2 separate regions of the Homo sapiens genome follow, and region 1 is linked to region 2. The links are contacts of gene promoters, found by promoter capture Hi-C in blood cells and fetal thymus (Javierre and others, 2016). All regions are on one chromosome and are shown on one strand. The core of a region is centred on a gene start or on the middle of the fragment in contact, and the rest is flanking DNA. Distances in the headings are between cores, read along the strand shown. Region 1 overlaps RNF8 (ring finger protein 8). Region 2 holds the start of MDGA1 (MAM domain containing glycosylphosphatidylinositol anchor 1).

What was found. Contacts are between HindIII fragments. The CHiCAGO score rates a contact against its expected background, and 5 or more counts as called.
Region 1: a fragment that was not itself captured here is called in contact with the fragment with the promoter of MDGA1 in region 2 in 6 of 17 cell types (total CD8 T cells, naive CD8 T cells, non-activated CD4 T cells and 3 more); the score reaches 6.7 in total CD8 T cells.

What each region holds. Positions count from the first base shown.
Region 1 is chr6:37,382,024-37,385,562 of GRCh38, reverse strand. All of the region lies in intron 7 of RNF8 (ring finger protein 8), which reads right to left. Among named protein-coding and RNA genes, the nearest start is that of RNF8, 30 kb to the right of the region's middle. The HindIII fragment of the contact is 3,433 bases long and covers 1-3,272 here.
Region 2 is chr6:37,696,555-37,700,787 of GRCh38, reverse strand. It overlaps MDGA1 (MAM domain containing glycosylphosphatidylinositol anchor 1), which reads left to right and starts at 2,905. Exons shown (of 17, transcript NM_153487.4): 1 at 2,905-4,043. The coding sequence starts at 3,977. RefSeq lists silencers at 1,794-1,863, 1,884-1,953, 2,820-2,949, 2,970-3,039, 3,100-3,229 and 3 more and an enhancer at 3,552-4,233. The HindIII fragment of the contact is 24,309 bases long and covers 1-4,233 here.

The sequences.
Region 1 (3,539 bases), core at 307-2,806, 310 kb after region 2:
CTCAGCCTCCCAGGTTCAAGCAATACTCCTGCCTCAGCCTCCTGAGTAGCTGGGATTACAGGTGTGCACCACCACGCCCGGCTAATTTTTGTATTTTTAGTAGAGATGGGGTTTCACCATGTTGGTCAGGCTGGTCTCAAACTCCTGACCTCATGATCCACGCCCCCTCAGCCTCCCAAAGTGCTGGGATTACAGCCGTGAGCCACAGCACCCGCCCTGCATACATTGTTTAAAGTAAAAAAATCTTAAGAGCCAGGCGCGGTGGCTCACGCCTGTAATCCCAGCACTTTGGGAGGCAGAGGTGGGCGGATCACCTGAGGTCGGGAGTTCAAGACCAGCCTGACCAACATGGAGAAACCCCATCTCTACTAAAAATACAAAATTAGCCGGGCATGATGGCACATGCTTGTAATCCCAGCTACTTGGGAGGGTGAGGCAGAAGAATTGCTTGAACCCGGGAGGCGGAGGTTGTGGTAAGCCGAGATCGCGCCATTGCACTCCAGCCTGGGCAACAAGAGCGAAACGCCATCTCAAAAAAAAAAAATCTTAAGAATACAGTGTTATATACTATCTGAGTACAAGCATGTGGACACTCCCGCCTCATCCTGACCTTGCCAAGATCCATTTTCCCTTAGACAAACACTGTCTTATACAAGGCAGGCAGAAATGCTAACTTCCTGCAAATGACCCTGATTCTCCAGGGACAGGACTGAGTAGGTTACAACTACCTGCTAATAAGTATTCTCTCTGGAAGAGAGAGGATTACTGCTGCCACTCCTTCAAACATCCCTTTAAAAGGCTGTCTTTCAGCAAAGGAGGATGGGCAATATCAGGGAAAGCCTTACAGGTGGGCTGATGGATACTCTTCAGAGCCTGGGCTTTGCCAGTTTCTCCTGCCCTGTGTTAGGTCCACCCTCTACTTAGCCTATAAGAAGCTGGCAAGAGATACAGGCCATGTGGTCTGACCTGGATCCATCTCCCCAGACACCCCCAACCTCTGGAGGGGTCTTTGTGTCACAGATTCACACAATAGTTCACAAATGCCTCTCCCCACCTCAGCACACGTGAAGGCCATGGCACACTCTCACTAGTAGCCACAATTCACTATTACAGCAGCAAGGGGCCAGGCGCAGTGGCTCATGCCTGTAATCCCAGCACTTTGGGGGGCGGAGCGGGGTACATCACCTGAGGTCAGGAGTTGGGAGACCAGCCTGGCCAACACAGTAAAACCCCGTCTCTACTAAAAATGCAAACATGAGCTGGGCGTGGTGGCATGCACCTGTAATCCTAGCTACCCAGGAGGCTGAGGGAGGAGAATCACTTAAACCCGGGAGGGGGAGGTTGCAGTGAGCCAAAATTGCGCCATTAAACTTCAGCCTTTCAGCCTGGGCAACAAAGCAAGACACCATCTCAAAAAAAAAAAAAAAAAAATAGTAGCAAGGGAGCTAAGGAATGTAGTTTGAAAAAGCCCCTTGGTTGAAAATCACTGTTCTAAAGGACCAAGGAGATTTTATTTCTACATTGCTTGTTTTTTTTCTGAGTACAACCCAAAGAAACCGCTAGGAAAAGCAAAACAGAAGAGTTTTAACACTCTTGTCAACCAACTAACATCGAATGAGAACAGAAGAAACGGGAGGGGAGGAGCTGACAGAAGACTGCTCTCTCACCTCACCAGCTCCAGAGGGAGATACTCTATAGGGGATTTCAAAAAAACTTTTCCATTCAGAAAAAATCTCATGTCAATATCCCAGAGAGCCACAGTGACTCATGATACAAGACTTACTGAATGTCTGTTATCTGTCCTAGCTCCAGAGCATCCATCTCCAACTCAGGACCCAGCATCCTAACACTCCCATCCTCTTCCTCTCCTCTGGTCTCACACAAGAGATCAATGGCTAATCAGTCATGAGACTCTACTCCTCCCACTAACATATGAAACTTCAATAACCAGCCCAGGAGGCCTAGAAGTGAGGCTGTTCTTGGTGAAATCAGAATACAGGCATGTCTGCATGGGCAACACCCTGTGGCCACAGGCAGGCAGGTCTCCTCTGAATTTATAAGAGCAATTCCTGCTCCAGGGCCTGCAGTGATGGGACTCTGACAATTACAGGCTTGCCAATCCTAGTTTCCAGATCCTAAATTTGGTCCTTTTTAAAAATTCCCATGCAACAGGGATTAAACCAGCTTTCAATTGGCCTTGGAATATGGAAGGAAGGTTGGTATTTAAACTGAGAATTTTCTCTAAACCCAGTGAAGCTGTTGATAGCTCTGGCATGTCTTTCCCTAAATCAGGTCTCAGAAAACCTGTCTGTCTCTAGAGAAAACTTCAAAGCTGCATTCAGTGTGATAACTACAGAAACCAAGATGGGTGCCAGAAGTGCTCCCAGCCAATGCATGTAACAGGGAAGCTAACTCATTTTACTGTGTAGCCCCCTAGTGTTACCAAAAAAGTGAGAGACACCCTCTTTAGCCTTTGGAGAGAAAAGGGGGATCTGTTATTACTCTGCAGAATTAACTCTGTGTAATAGGAGTCAGACGTAAACTTAGGACACAGGGCCCAGGGCCCTTCTTTCCTTTTTTTTTTTTTTTTGAGACAGAGTCCCGCTCTGTCATCCAGGCTGGAGTGCAGTGGTGCGATCTTGGCTCACTGCAACCTCTGCAGGTTCAAACGATTCTCTTGCCTCAGCCTCCTGAGTAGCTGCGACTACTGGTGTGCGCCACCACGCCCGGCTAATTTTTGTATTTTTAGTAGAGACGGGCTTTCACCATGTTGGCCAGGCTGGTCTCGAACTCCTGACTTCGTGATCTGCCCATCTTGGCCTCCCAAAGTGCTGGGATTACAGGCATGAGCCACCGTGCCCAGCCTTTTCTTTCCCTGATGTTTTGTGAAGCCATTTGCCATGCTTAGATTGCAGGGAAGGAACTTAGGTGGTAGACTGGGCGAAGAAAGCCCATGGGTGTCCCTAGGTCCACCCCCCAACCCCGTCCCCCGACTCAGCTGATCTTGGCCAAATCTGGATTCCCAGATCACTGCTCCTCTCAAAAAGGGAAAGAGGGAAGAAAAAAAAATTCACAAAGCCTCCGTAGATACTTTCTAAGCCTTGACATCATGTGAATATTATGTCTTGTGTGGGCCACACTGGGAACTGGGGCAGGACAGGTCACTGCTTCTCATGCCTCTGTGTTTTGCTTGTGCTACTGCCTCTCCTTAGAAAGCTAACCTCCTAGGGAACCTTTAAGGCTCATTCAAATGTCATTTCCTTGATGAAGCTTTTTCCCATACCTGCACCTCCCCAGGCCAAATCAGGTGTGTCCCTTCCTTTGAAGTTTCATAGCACCCTGATAAGGAACTCATCACACTATCTACTTGCCTTTCTATCTCCTCCGCCAGACTGTTTGTGCCGTAAGGGCTGAGATAATGTCTTATTTAACTTTTTCTCCTGATGCCTAGTGTAGTATTCCTGTAAATGCTTATGGAGTGATGGGAGGTGAAAAGGAAGAACAATGGGATTCTGTCAGATCAAGTAGCTCTTGGAAGT
Region 2 (4,233 bases), core at 1,656-4,155:
TCCATGAGAATAACAGCCCTGTCTTACATAATGGTTATGAAGATTAAATAGTTAATACAGTGCCTGGCATGTGGTGTCAGCTGTTATTCTTATTACTCCACTTCTCTCTAGGAAGACAGGGATCTTACCTAGTTTACATCTGGGGAAACTGAGGCCTAGAGAGGTTAGGACTGGGACGCAGGACTGATGTCTAGGGCTCTTTCCCTTCTCTGAGGTTGCCTCCCATTGTCAGACACTGGGCTGTGTTGAGGCAGCAGGCAGGGCACACTTGGGGGAGGAGACAGCTGAATTTACAGACACACACAAACAGGCTGTCAAGGTATTTACACTGCATACAATTAGCTGCAGAGTATTCACAAGTGGATTAGCTACAGCAAATGTTCAATCCCAGCCTGGCTAACTTGGTCCTCTGTTCCCCCCACCCCGCCATCATGAACCTTCTTTCTCCTCCAGGCTAGTGTGTGAGTTTAGAGAGGGCAAAGTCAAGAGAATGTCAGCTGAGTCAGTGCAGTTCTCTGTCCCCAGTAACTCACCCCAAAGCCAAAGAGGAGCAATTGACTGCTGTTTGGTGTTGGAACAGCTAATTGGAAAATCAGAGCGCAGTTTCGCACGACATGGAGAAGTACACATTCAGCTCAGAATGGGCAAAGCCAGGAAGAGCCACAGTCGCTGTGATCACTCCCTGAGAGCTTCCTGGAAGGGGTAGAGACTTCCAGGAACCCTCTAATAATGGGAAGAGGATGACAATAGAAGAAGCTATCCCTCATCACTCCCTCAATTGGCACCACTTCCTTTTCTGACTGGATGGGGGAGGCGGGAAGAGGCATGGTGGCTGTGTATCTCTGTGGGACAGAAAATGAATTTTTTGCCTTTGAGGTAACAGTCCGGGGCTGGGGAGTGAAAGGATGGCTACCCTGAGGGTATCCCAGGTCTGTGATATCTGGCCATGATGGGCATCATTCGTGAATTCACTGAACATGTCTGCAGCTGGCATCTGCTGGGAGCACCGCACTGAGTCTGGACTTCCTATCAGCCTTGGACCCACGGGGTAGAAAGGAGAGAAAAGACGGAAGAGGGCACAAGGGAGGCGCAAACGAGTGGAGGTGGGCTAGAGAATAGGAATCTTCGGATGTTCTCGGGCTTCCTGAGATGGACAGAAAGGGGGCTGAGAAAGGAAGGTGGAACCCCCCCATGCCACCAGGCACTTCCCGACACCTCCCGCTCCTCTTCCAGCAGTCAGGAGCGCGCGCTCCGGTGGGGCTTAAGCCCTGGAGAGTCAAGGGAGGAGAGACCCAGCAGGAAATGGGCCTGGGGAAGGGACGGTTCATTATTATTATTTTAAAAAAATTTATGTTTCAATTTATATGCAGACTAACCTTTTTGGAGTGTGGAGATCTTTGAGTTTTGACAAATGCATAGAGCCGTGGAACCACCATCAAGATATTGAGCAGTTCCAGGGGGCGAAGGGAGGGGGGGTTCGTAGTCTCCCCGCTTGTTAGCTGCTGCGATTGTCTGCGCTCCCACGGGCCGACCTAAAACAATTCTTGCGCACACGCTGAGATAAATAACGGCGACAGGTGGAGCAGGTGAGATTAGCAGGACCCGGGTTGGGCGCGGGGCGGGATCGGAGGCGCGGGGGAGGCCACCAGCCTCGCTTGCCAGCCTACGCCCCTCCCCGCGGGCGTTTGGGAGGAGCGTTCTCCGCACTCCTGCTCCGCGAGGGCCCCTTCGAGGCGGCTGAGACCCGAGTGCCGGACTCCCGCCGCTGGAGCGGGGCTCGGGTTCGGCAGCCGGAAGGAGGTGTGCCCCCGGGGCGCTTGGGGGCGCCTGAGGTCCCGAGGGGAGGCAAGATGGGAAGAGTGGCTAGCCGAGGAAAATGTGGGGTGACTTAGGGAAGCTCTGGCGGAGGGGTCGTGCGAGCAAACCTGTTGGCAACCTGTGGGCCGCGGCAAGGGCAGGAGCTCTCAGCGCGACCTCTCCGCCAGCTGCTCCGGCCCGGCCCCAGCACCAGACGCCTGGAAAGGGGCGGGGGCCTCTCGAGCCGGGCAGACAGCCTTGCAGACCCACAGCCGCGGCCCGTCTCGCGCGGCTGCAGGACCCCAGGAACCGCAGGCGCCCGGCCTTTCCCTAGGACCCCCGCTTCAGTCCCGCCTCCCCAAAGTGCAAAACATTTACGAAGTGTGCAGTGCCCTGCGGGCATGGGTCTCCGAAGCGAGCGGCCGTGTTTGCCCCGCGGGCTGCTGGCAACGGTGCACCCGGCTCGGCCAGCTAGTCTGGGTGTGCAAGGCTGGAGAACAGCGAGTGTGCGAGCGCGCGGCTGCAGAGCCCCCGCCGAAACCCAGGTCCCTCCGCCACTGTCCTCGGGATAGATGGATCCATTTCTGCTTTCTGACATTTTCCTGCTGGGCGGGGTTGGGGGGGAATGTTAGGGGGCGGAGAGAGGAAGAGAGAGAGAGGGAGAGGAGAAAGGGAAAGAGAGGAGAGGAGAGGAAGGGAGAGAGAGCGAGAGGGAGAGAGAGAGGAGAGAGAGAAGAGAGAGAGAGGAGAGAGAGAGAAAGAGAGAGAGAGAGAGAGAGAGAGAGAGAGAGAGAGAGAGAGAGAGAGAGAAAGAGAAAGAGAAAGAGAAAGAGAAAGGCAGGCAGTCAGCTTCCCCCAGCCCTGTTTTGTTTTCTCTAATTGGTCCTGGGGGAGGCGAGGAAATTGGACAGAGGCTGGGCCAGGCGAGCTGGGCTGCCTTTAATTGGCTCCTTTTTTTAACTGGAGGGGAATCAAACAGGAGAGCGAGCGACAACGGGTGGGAGAGCGAGAGACCGAACGAGGAGACGCGAGGAGGAGGGAGGAGGAAGAGAGGGAGGGAGGCGGGAGGAGCGCGGAATGAAAAGCTCGGAGGGGCGAAAAAGCAGCACAGCAAAGCCCAAGTTGCTGAGCGAGCGGAGCGCTCCCGCGGCCCGGAGCCGAGCGGCCGCCGCGCCCCGGAGCCCGGCCCGGCCCCGCCCGCTCTGGGCCCCCGCAGGCCAAGGCCGCCGGGCGGGGGCGGGGACGACCAACTTGGGGCGCGGCGTAGCCCCGCTCTCCCGAGAGCTCGGAGCCCGGGAGGGCTACGGCCGCGGCCAGACGGCGGGAGAGGAGCGCGGCGAGCGGAGGCGGCGAGCGGCGCCCGCGCCGCAGCCCCGGCCTGGGCGAGAGCGCGAATATTTTTCAAAAGACTCAAACTTTCCTCCTTTCCCCGTTTTCTGGGGCCCTTCTTGCCTGGAATTGCTCTCCAGATTCCCGCGGGGCGCCGGGCTGCTATTCTTCCCCCGGGTTTATCGGCGGCTCGGCTAACTTCACGGACCCGGGGACCCGCGGCGCTCGTCCCTCGGCCGAACCCAGCCCGCGCTGCTCCCCGGATCAGGAGGGCCGGGCCCGGGGCTGCTTCGCCGCCGCGAGTGCTTTCAGCCCGGCCCCCTGGAGTCGGGCCGCTGAGCCCACGGCAGCGGCCGCAGGACTGGAAACAGCAGATTGATTAACTCGAGCGGAGCCCCGGCCTCCCCGACTCCGCTCCGCTGAGGGGCGGCCCCAGTGCGGGGAAACGACAAGTTTGTCAGTCGTCCGTGGCCTGTTGGATCGAAGCGCCGCCTCCGCCGCCGAGAGGTCCCCGGCGCCTAGCATCCCGCGCGGACGGCCCTGGGTACCCGGGGCGGCTCGGCGGCCGGGCTCCTCGGGTCGGGGCGCTGGCTGCTGTGCCGGGCGCGCCGAGGCACCCGGGGCTGGGCCAGCGCCCCCTGCGTCCCCACGCGGGCAGCGGCCCCGCCGGAGGAGAAACACGGGTCGCCGCCACCTCCGCCTCTTCAGTCTCCTGGTCTTCGTCGCCGCTCTCTCTCTCACCTCTCAGGGAAAGGGGGGGACATAGGGGCGTCGCGGGGCCCCGGCGAATGCGCCCCCCGCCGCCTCTCGGGCTGCGCCGCCTCGCGGGGATGAAGCACCGGCCGTGAAGATGGAGGTGACCTGCCTTCTACTTCTGGCGCTGATCCCCTTCCACTGCCGGGGACAAGGAGTCTACGGTAAGAGCCCGCGTCCCGCTCCACCTTGGCTTAACCTCGCGCGGAAACTTTGCAAGAGGCGCAAAGTGCGCGCTGCCGGGGTTTGGTGGAGACCTCGACTCGGACTCTGGAGTGGATGCCCGCGTCCCCGCCCTCTCCAGGGCGCGTGGAGACCGAGCTAGCTGCTTCGGAACACAGGGGCCGGTCGTAG